Regions from separate parts of the Homo sapiens genome. Here regions 2 and 3 are each linked to region 1. The links are contacts of gene promoters, found by promoter capture Hi-C in blood cells and fetal thymus (Javierre and others, 2016). All regions are on one chromosome and are shown on one strand. The core of a region is centred on a gene start or on the middle of the fragment in contact, and the rest is flanking DNA. Distances in the headings are between cores, read along the strand shown.

Region 1 (2,877 bases), core at 99-2,598:
TTGCTAGTTTTTAAGAGCATCTGAAAACCATTGAGGTAACTTATTTAAATGGTCCAATCTAATACCAGGCGGGAGTTAGAAAAACAAAAGTGTGTTTACCACTGCTTTTCCAAGGAAGAGGAAATGCAGAATGGGCAACGCTGGATAACTGGGCTAAAGAATAAAGTGCAAGCAAGCTAAAGGATTCTATCACAACTGCCAAACAGGAAGAATCTTCCCAGCTGGGAAAGCCATCTGCAAGCAATAGCAATGAACACGGGATGGAATCAGTCACAGAAAAGGAATAATGCAGAGTAGTTGAGAGGAAGATAACTTTTCTGTTAGACAATCCTCACCAAAAAGACGGGGAGGGGGAGAACCAGCAAAACAAAAACTTTTCCTTTTTTGCTGACCGCTGCTATAACAATCAAGCTTTAGCGGACAGTTAATCCAGGTGGCTCCACCAATACATCTTCTCCCAAATTTCTAGTGGCTGAACAGCTTCTAGTGGTTTCCACTAGCTGAAACTGCTTCCCAGATGCAAAAACTGCAACTTGAACATGAAACACGGAAACTACTCCAATCTCATCTTCTAGAAATCAGTTATTCAAATGGAGGTCCCTGTTGGAAGAAACACGCTCCTAGCTCCCTGCCCACACACCATTCATTAGGAAAGGTCACTTTAAAGGACTTCTACGGCAGGAGCGCTTGCACAGAACCATCCAAAAGTCTTCAGAATCTTCCCTCGAGGAAGTGGCCGGCTCTGGGCTCGGAAGAGACACATCTGGCGGGAGCTAAAGCTCCCTAGTAAACGTGCAGATCAAACTACCCCTGCCGCGGCCGGCCTGCTCTGTGAAGGCTTCCCCTTCTTTCTCTCTCCGGGGGCCCTGCCTTCCTCTACACGTCTGGGGCCGCGGCCGAGATGGCCACGCGCGTGCCCAGGCGGGAAGGGTGCTTCAGCAGCCGATCGGCCCGCGGGCAGCTAGGCGGGTCCCTGAGGCCTGCGCTGGGCGCCAGTTCCTTTCAGCACGGCCCGGCCTCGGGCCCCGCCCCGCATGGCCGCTGCCTACCTTACTCAGCCCGGCTAACGCCCCTTCCCCTAAGCTCTCCGCCGAGGCCTTCGACCTCGCTCCCACCCGGATCCCGGATCCTCCGGAACTGGAACCCAGTATGCCCGGCGAGGGTAGGGGGAGCGCGGGGAAACCAGGGAAGGAAGGCTGCTGCAGCCCTCGGAGGCCGCGCTGGGCTCTCCGGCCGCTGAGCCGCCTGCACTGGGGGCAACAAGCCCTTGGATCTCACCTCTCTCGGGCGCTGCCGCCACTGCTGCCCGGGCCAAGACGCCTCCTTCCCCAAGCGGCCATCTTGGAGACACTCTGCTTGCCAACGTCTCGCGCCAAGGCGGCATCGGGAGAGCAGGCGGGCCGACGGGAAGTGTAGTCCGGCCTGCGGTCCGGGGCCGCTCGGCAGGCGGAAGCCAGACCCGGCGGAACTACCGTGCCCACAAGGCAGCGCGCCGGAAGCCCCGCCCCCGGGGTCGCCGGGGCCCGTAGTCCTTCTGCGAGGGCGCGAGGACTCCAGGAGCCGTCCTGGTTCGAGCATTTCTGAAGAAACTGAGTTCCCGGCGTTCGCAGCCTGGGAGTCACAGGCGCCCACCCACCGGTAGGTCCTTGAGTTTCGAGAGCCAGTAGCTGAAGGAGAGAGGAGAGGCAAGTGCCTACAACTCCCAGAGCACTGCGCGGAGGCGCCCGGCCGCGCTGTCCTGGCCGCCAGGCTGCCTCTCCCGCTGGGGGCCGCCGCGCTGTCTGCGGGCTACTAGCGCCGGGCCCCTCCGCGTCGCCACGCCTGCCCTTCACAGCCTTGGCCCATAAGGTCACCGAGGGGCGGGAGGCGCCGCCCGGGCCCTCCTTGGAGGCGGGCGCTGCTCCCGCACCATCCTCCCCCAGTTCTCTTAGACTCCGGGGTACTTTGGAGGCCGAGACAGACACGCTGTCCCTGCTGCCACGGAGGTCCCTGCTTGCAGGTGCAGGCTGTTAGAGGAGAGGGTCTGAAAACAAGAAAGGGGAATAGCTGTATGATAACTGCTTGAAGGCGAGAGGGCCCAGCGACAGCTCTGTTTTAGACAGGGCCTCCAGGCCTCTTAGACTCAGTCCCTGCCACGCACCCACTCCTGCCCTGGCCGCTGCGACGGCATAATCTCGGGATCTTTGAAGGCAGATGCGGGGCTAAACCATCCCACCTGACGGGAACCCTGCCACAGGACCCGACATATCCCTGTCTGGACACTGCTGTAACGAGTCAAAGTCAGGAAGGACTAACTGGAGCCCAGAGATTCCCAGGTGCTGCTGCCTCAGACCTGTGGACTCTTTGGAGGATCTCTTACAGTTTGTGAACTTCTCAGTTCCTCTACTGCTCCCACAGACAACGTTGCTAAACATATTAATTGGTCCCATAAATACTTGAGCAAAACAAATGCGAAAATCTGTCCCGAATTCAGCCTAGAAGAAGCCCAGCCCTGCGCGTCACACTTCTGTGTAGTGGAACCCCCCTTCCCACCCCGCCGCAGGCCACAGCAGGAGGGCCAGCAGACGGAAAGGCGACCCTCTCCTTGTTGAGGATTCCTTTCGATTTCCTTCCAGCTGACATTCTACCACAGTTTTAGCTGCTTGCAATCCTCTCACCGTCCCTCATCACCTACAGTGTGTGATTCAAATTCCTTAGCACAATCAAGAAGCCCCTCCTTAGTTTGGAAGTTGCCTAGCTCTCCAAATTCAACTGCCTACCTTTCCCGTCTGGAACTTGCCAGGCTAGTAAATTCAGAGGGTTTGCAGATACGTAGATGTTCTATGCTTTACCTAAAATGCTTTTACCTCCCAGCCAACTTTTTTTTTTTTTTTTGAG
Region 2 (2,877 bases), core at 126-2,625, 200 kb before region 1:
ATCTTGAGTAGCAGCAGTTACACAACTATGCATTCGTCGAAACTCATCTATCTATAGGCTAGAAGGTGGGTGTGACTGTAATTTACACCTTAACAAGCCGGAGTCTAAAAACAATCTAACACAAGTGAGCTTATCACTAAAGTCAGTGATACAACCACCCACCAACTTCCCAGCTGCACCCTCCTTTCTCCTATTTGGGCCGTGTCCCCAGCAGTTATGGCACATTGCAGGTACTTTGAGGAAATCGGTTAGGCTCGACCAGAGGCTGGCAATCTGTTTTTGAAAGGCTTGGACAGTAAATAATTTCAGCTTTGCAGGTTGGATAGCCTCTGTCCAACTGCTCAACTCTGTGGCTGTCCCACAAAAGCGACCAGTGACCAGACAGACATGAGTGAGCTGGCGTGGCTGCATCTCTCGCAGAGGTTACGAATGGGAACAGGCCAGGGCTGTTGGCTGGCTCCTGTGCAAGGCACCTGAAGAACAGGCACCAGCCTGCTTATTAGTTGAGGTAACTGAGCTGCTTCAGCTCTGAGAAGCATGTCTAGGTCACGGAGCCGGTGAGGGCTGAGGCGGCAGCCGTGAACGCCTTGCTCTGAACGCTGCCATGCTCTGATGCCGGGGACAGAAGTGGACAGGAACGCCACACGTGCAGCCCACAGGAACAGCCAACGTGCAGCGCGTAGCTCATGAGGACAGAGGCTCTGATGGGGCATGCTTAGAGAGACCTGGCGGTGGAGGAGACTCGCATACCAGGAGGACACAGGAGGGTGACACATGCGTGCCTTTCTGAGCCAGGAAGGTAGACCATGGAGGAAGAGGAAGGGGGAGAATCACCCGTCTTTAGAGACAAATGTCACCCACCAGGGAAGTCTCTGCCACAAGCCTCTCAAAGGGCTTCTCCTTGTTCTGAGTCAGCAGTGCGTCCCCAAAAATCACGCCAGGTCTTCCCTTTTTGGAAAACTGTGTTTTCCATAATAGACATGTATATTAAACATTAACTTACTACAAAAGGTTCTAAATGTATCTTCCTTTATCATGGTCCACCTTAAATTTTTTTTTTGAAGGTGAAAACAAAGTAACAGAAATGTTCCCCTGCAGAAGTCAATGGCGCTCACCTCCTGAAACAGTGAGGACATCTCACAGACCAGACAGGAGCTGGGGCTCTGCATCTCACAGCGGTGCCTGTCAGACAGGAAGAAGTCCCGCAGAAGTGGCGTGTGGGTCAGGGCCTGCACGATGCAGTTCATGAAGCATGTGTTCCCAAGGTTGATCAGCCCACGCAGACCTGGACACAAATCACCAGAGAGCAGGAGTTACCTGTGTGCTGAACCACAGGTGTCGCTGGATCCCAGCGGCTTCCTCTACCTCTACATACTCATTTTCTTTTATTCATTCATTCAAGCCAGAACACGATGAGATATCGCATTCTGCTAGTTTTTATGCCACTTTTACATGAACGGTATTGAAGAATGTCCACCACCATGGACCCCTCCCACTTCAGCCATTGTATGCTTTGACAGAATTACACAAATATAGTTTCTACGACAACAGGCCAGGTCAGAGTGAAGCCTAATGAACAAACAAAACAGGTTTTTAAAAATGTTCTAGGGCCAGGGCAGGGGCTCATACTTGTAACCCAGCACTCTGGGAAGCCAAGGCATGAGGATCACTGGAGCCCAGGAGTTCGAGACCAGCCTGGGCAACATGGTGAGATGTCTCTACGCAAAACACAAAAATTATCCAAACATGGTGGTGTGCACCTGCAATCCCAGCTACTTGGGAGGCTGAGGTGGAAGGATCGCTTGGGCCCAGGAGACAGAGGGTGCAGTGAACTGTGCTCCAGCCTGGGCAACAGAGCAAGACTCTGTCTCAAAAAAGAAAAAGAAAAAGTTTTAAAGGGTATTCCCTCAATTTGTAGAAAATTCAGCGAACACTTACACTCACACACATCATTTCTCTCCCTGAAGATTACTGTGCCCAGCCTCACCCTGGCCAAAATCAACTTGAGTCCCTTTACCCACACAGACGCTGAAGGCTGTGAGGGCAGGGCTGTTGCTACGCATCACTCTGCGCCCCAAGCCCACTGCAGGTCCCTGCAGAGAACAGGTGCTCAAGAGCTGGTTGCTGAGCACATTGATGAGTGACAGTTATGCAGGGCTTCAACAGAATCATGTGGACTTAAGAAACCCACAATTCTGTATTTACTTTTAAACCCTGGAAAGAAGCCTAGCTGAGAGTGACGACACGCTCCACCCACCTATGGTGCAGTTCGAGGTGATCTTTCTCCTTTTCGGGTTGTGCTTCAGCAGTTCAAGCTCCCGTTTGGTTGGTTCCCAAGTTGAAAACTTCTCTCCAACGCCTAAGCAGATGAAGGACAGTTCCAAGCGCTATTAGCTAGATTTTCACATCAAGTGTGTTTACACATAAAAGCTGTGGCGCTATGCTGTCTGTCAGGGTGCATTTCAGTGAGCAACATCCACAGCACCAGGGCTTTCTCAAACTCTACTGTGCTGAGAGGGGCTACACACAACACTTAAAGGAGCTTCTCACAGAGGGTATGAGGATGTGAGCTACGTTTCCTGCAAGAAAAGCAGCACCTCCAGTCAAAACTACCCCAACGCCAATGCCAAAACAGTTGTTTTTCAAATGTCTTCCATCCTTCAGCACAGAGATGGCAGCATCAGCACCAATGGGAACTTACATGAAGGATTCTCCCGCAAACAAGTGAAATTGAAGGAGAGAGCTTGCACTTTTCAGCAAACTGAAATAGCATAAACTCAGCGTCGAGTTACCAAACTAAGATAGATCCAACAGTTAAAAACGTGTGTGCCACAAAATATTCAGAGAGTGGTGGTAAATGCTAATTGGCATAGTATT
Region 3 (2,877 bases), core at 220-2,719, 150 kb before region 1:
AGGTGAGGAGCGGCAAGGGGTGTGTGAGCAAGCATGGGGCCCGGCCACTGTGCACAGCCAGGCACGCCGGTTATGGCCAGGCAGGCAGTTCTAGGCACCTGTACAGGCACCAGCTTCCTGCGAGGCTGTGGCTAGACCAGGCATACCATAAGCAACTTCCACAGCTGACACTGAGGAACACAGTGGTGCCTGGAAGCTTGGAGACACCAGGAACCACAGAGCCATAAAGGGGGAGGCACAACCCTGGCTCAGGGAGCTCCTAGGTCTGGGTTCCCCAAAGGGCCACAGCTCTTCTCTCCTCTCTTTTTTTCTCCTTGTCACCCATAACATGGCAAGCAAGGGGTGTGTTTCAGCCCTGTTTGTGTTACAGCTCTCTTAGCCCTGCAATTTAGCAGGTCCTGAGTTCTTGTCCTGTGTCCGGGAAGAATGAAGTACTCAGATAAGTGAAGGGTGAGCAAGATGAAGAGGAGCTTTATTGAGCAATGGAACAGCTCAGAGGAGAGCCACGGTGAGTAGCTCCTCTCCGTAGCCAGGGTGTCCCAGTGAGTGTTCAGCCCTTAATAGAGAGGGTAGCTCCTCTCTCCTAGGCAGGTCGTCCCGATGAGTACTTAGCGCTCAGTAGAGAGGGTAGCTCCCCCGCAGAGAAGGTTGTCTTGTCATTTCCCTGCTCTCAGCAGAGAGGAGACCTTAGAGTGGGTAGCTCCTCTCCACAGCTGGCAGTCCCGACATCTCTTCTGGTCTGGCTAAGTCCAGGGTTTTTATGGGCCTCAGAAGGGAGGAAGCACATGCCAATTGGTCCATGGGCAGCCATGGGTAGGCCCAGAAAAAGCACCACAAGTTCCCATTCCAGTCCACAGGACCAGCAGCCCAGCCCCCGGGCTTCAGGCCCTCCCTAGCTTGAAGTTGGGGCTTCACTGGGGACCCGTCGCCTTCCACCCTGGGGCCTGTATGCCTCCTGCTGCCATTCATGAAGCCTAGGCTGTTCATGCCAAAGGGTGCCTGCAGACCAGCACCAAGCTGCCCTCAGCCCACTGTCAGCCTCCTTCCCATGCTCATCAGTGCCCAAGTCCAGAGGGGGCTGAGGTGGCAGGGGGCTGGTATGTCAGTGCTGCCCTGAGTGTGTGCACACCTGGCTGGTCTGTGACAGTGCCCAGGCTCAGCCCCATCCTTGCTTCAAGATTGTAGTGGGTGCCAGGAGCAGGGAGAGGCCAGATAGTGGGAGCAGACACTCCCAGCATGTGGGAGGAAGGGGGGCCATCCTGGTCCCCAAGAGTGCAGAGATGCCTGGGTCCTCAGCCACGGCTTGGGCAGCTGCAGCTGCCCCCAGGAGGGTAGGGCTCCTGCCTGCTTCCAGCCCCCAAGAGTACAGGGAGGCCAGGGTCCCTAGCTGTGACTTGGGCTGCTGCAGCTGTGCTTGGGAGGGTGGGGCTCTTCTGCTTCTGGCTCCTCCCAGTACCATGGAGCATGGCACTGCCCTGGGTCCAGCTCCGCCTAGGAGCCCCTTTCTGCCCGTCCCTCCGTGCTCTACCGTGCTGCTCCCCCACTGGCAGGCAACTCAGCCTGGCCCCATCTTGGTGGCTCCCAGGGTGGCCGGCTTTGGAGGGCTCCCAGGGGTGGGCTCCAAGGACTGCTCACCTCCTCTCTGTGTTTTCCCTGCAGTGGTGGCAGGTGAGGTGCAGGTGGCAGGGCGACCCTGGCCAACCCCGCACAAATGAACCTGATGCTCTCAGGGCTGGCCCTGAAAGCCCCAGCTGTGCCTTTGGCTCGGTGCTCACGGGCTCCCGGGATGTGGTGGGGAGCGAGGTTGAAGCCACAGCAGAGGCTCTGGGCCTGGGAGAGCGTCCTGCCTGGCTATGTGAGGGTGGGGATGATGCCATTGGCTGCCTCTGAGATGGGGCACAGGGGACCCACCACTGCCACTGCTGCTCCTGCAGCCACTCCTGCCTCCTGCCACCACTGCCTGTACCTCCCTGCTGCAGCTGGCATGATGGCAGTGGCCACTCCGGATGTCCCACTGCTGCCATCAACAACACTTTGGGAGGCCAAGGCAGGAGGAGCACTTGAGGTCACGAGTTTGAGACCAGCCTGGGCAACACAACAAGACTTCATCTCTAAAATAAATAAATGAAAAGACAAAGAAACCACCCAAATTCTAGGAGGCCACAGAGTGAGAACCCCTCCAGTTACCTCCACCAGAAAATGGGCCTGGGAAGCATGTTTGCACTGTCTCCTGCGGTCCCTCCCAGGCACGCCCATGTGGTGGATCCTGATCATGTGTTGTACCCTTGAGGAAATGGAGTCTGCGAAAGTGAATTTCTGGCCTTCCCATCCTGAAGATGAGAGACCCTTGATGTGGAACGTTCCCCAAACAGAGGGTGGCTGTTCACTAGGTGCTGGGAGGCCACTGGAGTGTGACAGAGGCCCTGTCGGCAGCCACCAGGAAGCACAACCAGAAACAGAAACTCAGTGCATTTCCCTTAGTGTTGGTGTCAGAGTCTAATTTTCAAAATGTTAAAAACATAATCCTCATAAAAACGAGTAGTGAGCATGGCATGAAAATTGTGTTTAACTCATTAGTGAGGGAACCAGCAGGAAGACATAGACAAGACAAAAGACGATATGAGGAAAAGGGAATTTTATAATCAGTAATGGGAAACGGAATACTGAGATAATATTTGCTCATCAGCTGGAAAATGTTAATGCTCCACCACAATCCTTCTCAAACCAGAGCACACAACAGAAGAAGCTTGGGGTGCCTGGCTGCACCCCGAGTTTGTGATTTTGTAGGTCCAGAGCGGGGCCTGAGAATCCACATTCCCAAGTGCTGCTGCTGGCCCAGCACCACGCTCTGAGAATCATATTCTCCAGGGAAATGCA

What was found. The method cuts DNA at HindIII sites, captures the fragments that hold promoters and counts their contacts. A CHiCAGO score of 5 or more calls a contact.
Region 2: a fragment that was not itself captured here is called in contact with the fragment with the promoter of TMEM11 in region 1 in 1 of 17 cell types (total B cells); the score reaches 5.9 in total B cells.
Region 3: a fragment that was not itself captured here is called in contact with the fragment with the promoter of TMEM11 in region 1 in 1 of 17 cell types (total B cells); the score reaches 6.1 in total B cells.

The regions. Positions count from the first base shown.
Region 1 is chr17:21,212,813-21,215,689 of GRCh38, forward strand. TMEM11 (transmembrane protein 11) reads right to left here and starts at 1,349. Exons shown (of 2, transcript NM_003876.3): 1 at 1,279-1,349. The coding sequence starts at 1,340. It overlaps TMEM11-DT (TMEM11 divergent transcript), which reads left to right and starts at 1,513. Exons shown (of 2, transcript NR_184102.1): 1 at 1,513-1,638. RefSeq lists enhancers at 1,251-1,350, 2,121-2,330 and silencers at 1,431-1,570, 1,691-1,960. The HindIII fragment of the contact is 13,322 bases long and covers 410-2,877 here.
Region 2 is chr17:21,016,827-21,019,703 of GRCh38, forward strand. USP22 (ubiquitin specific peptidase 22) reads right to left here. Exons shown (of 13, transcript NM_015276.2): 4 at 2,258-2,359; 5 at 1,116-1,285. Among named protein-coding and RNA genes, the nearest start is that of USP22, 25 kb to the right of the region's middle. The HindIII fragment of the contact is 5,848 bases long and covers 1-2,877 here.
Region 3 is chr17:21,059,944-21,062,820 of GRCh38, forward strand. No RefSeq gene overlaps it. Among named protein-coding and RNA genes, the nearest start is that of LINC01563, 14 kb to the right of the region's middle. RefSeq lists an enhancer at 2,040-2,159. The HindIII fragment of the contact is 2,550 bases long and covers 195-2,744 here.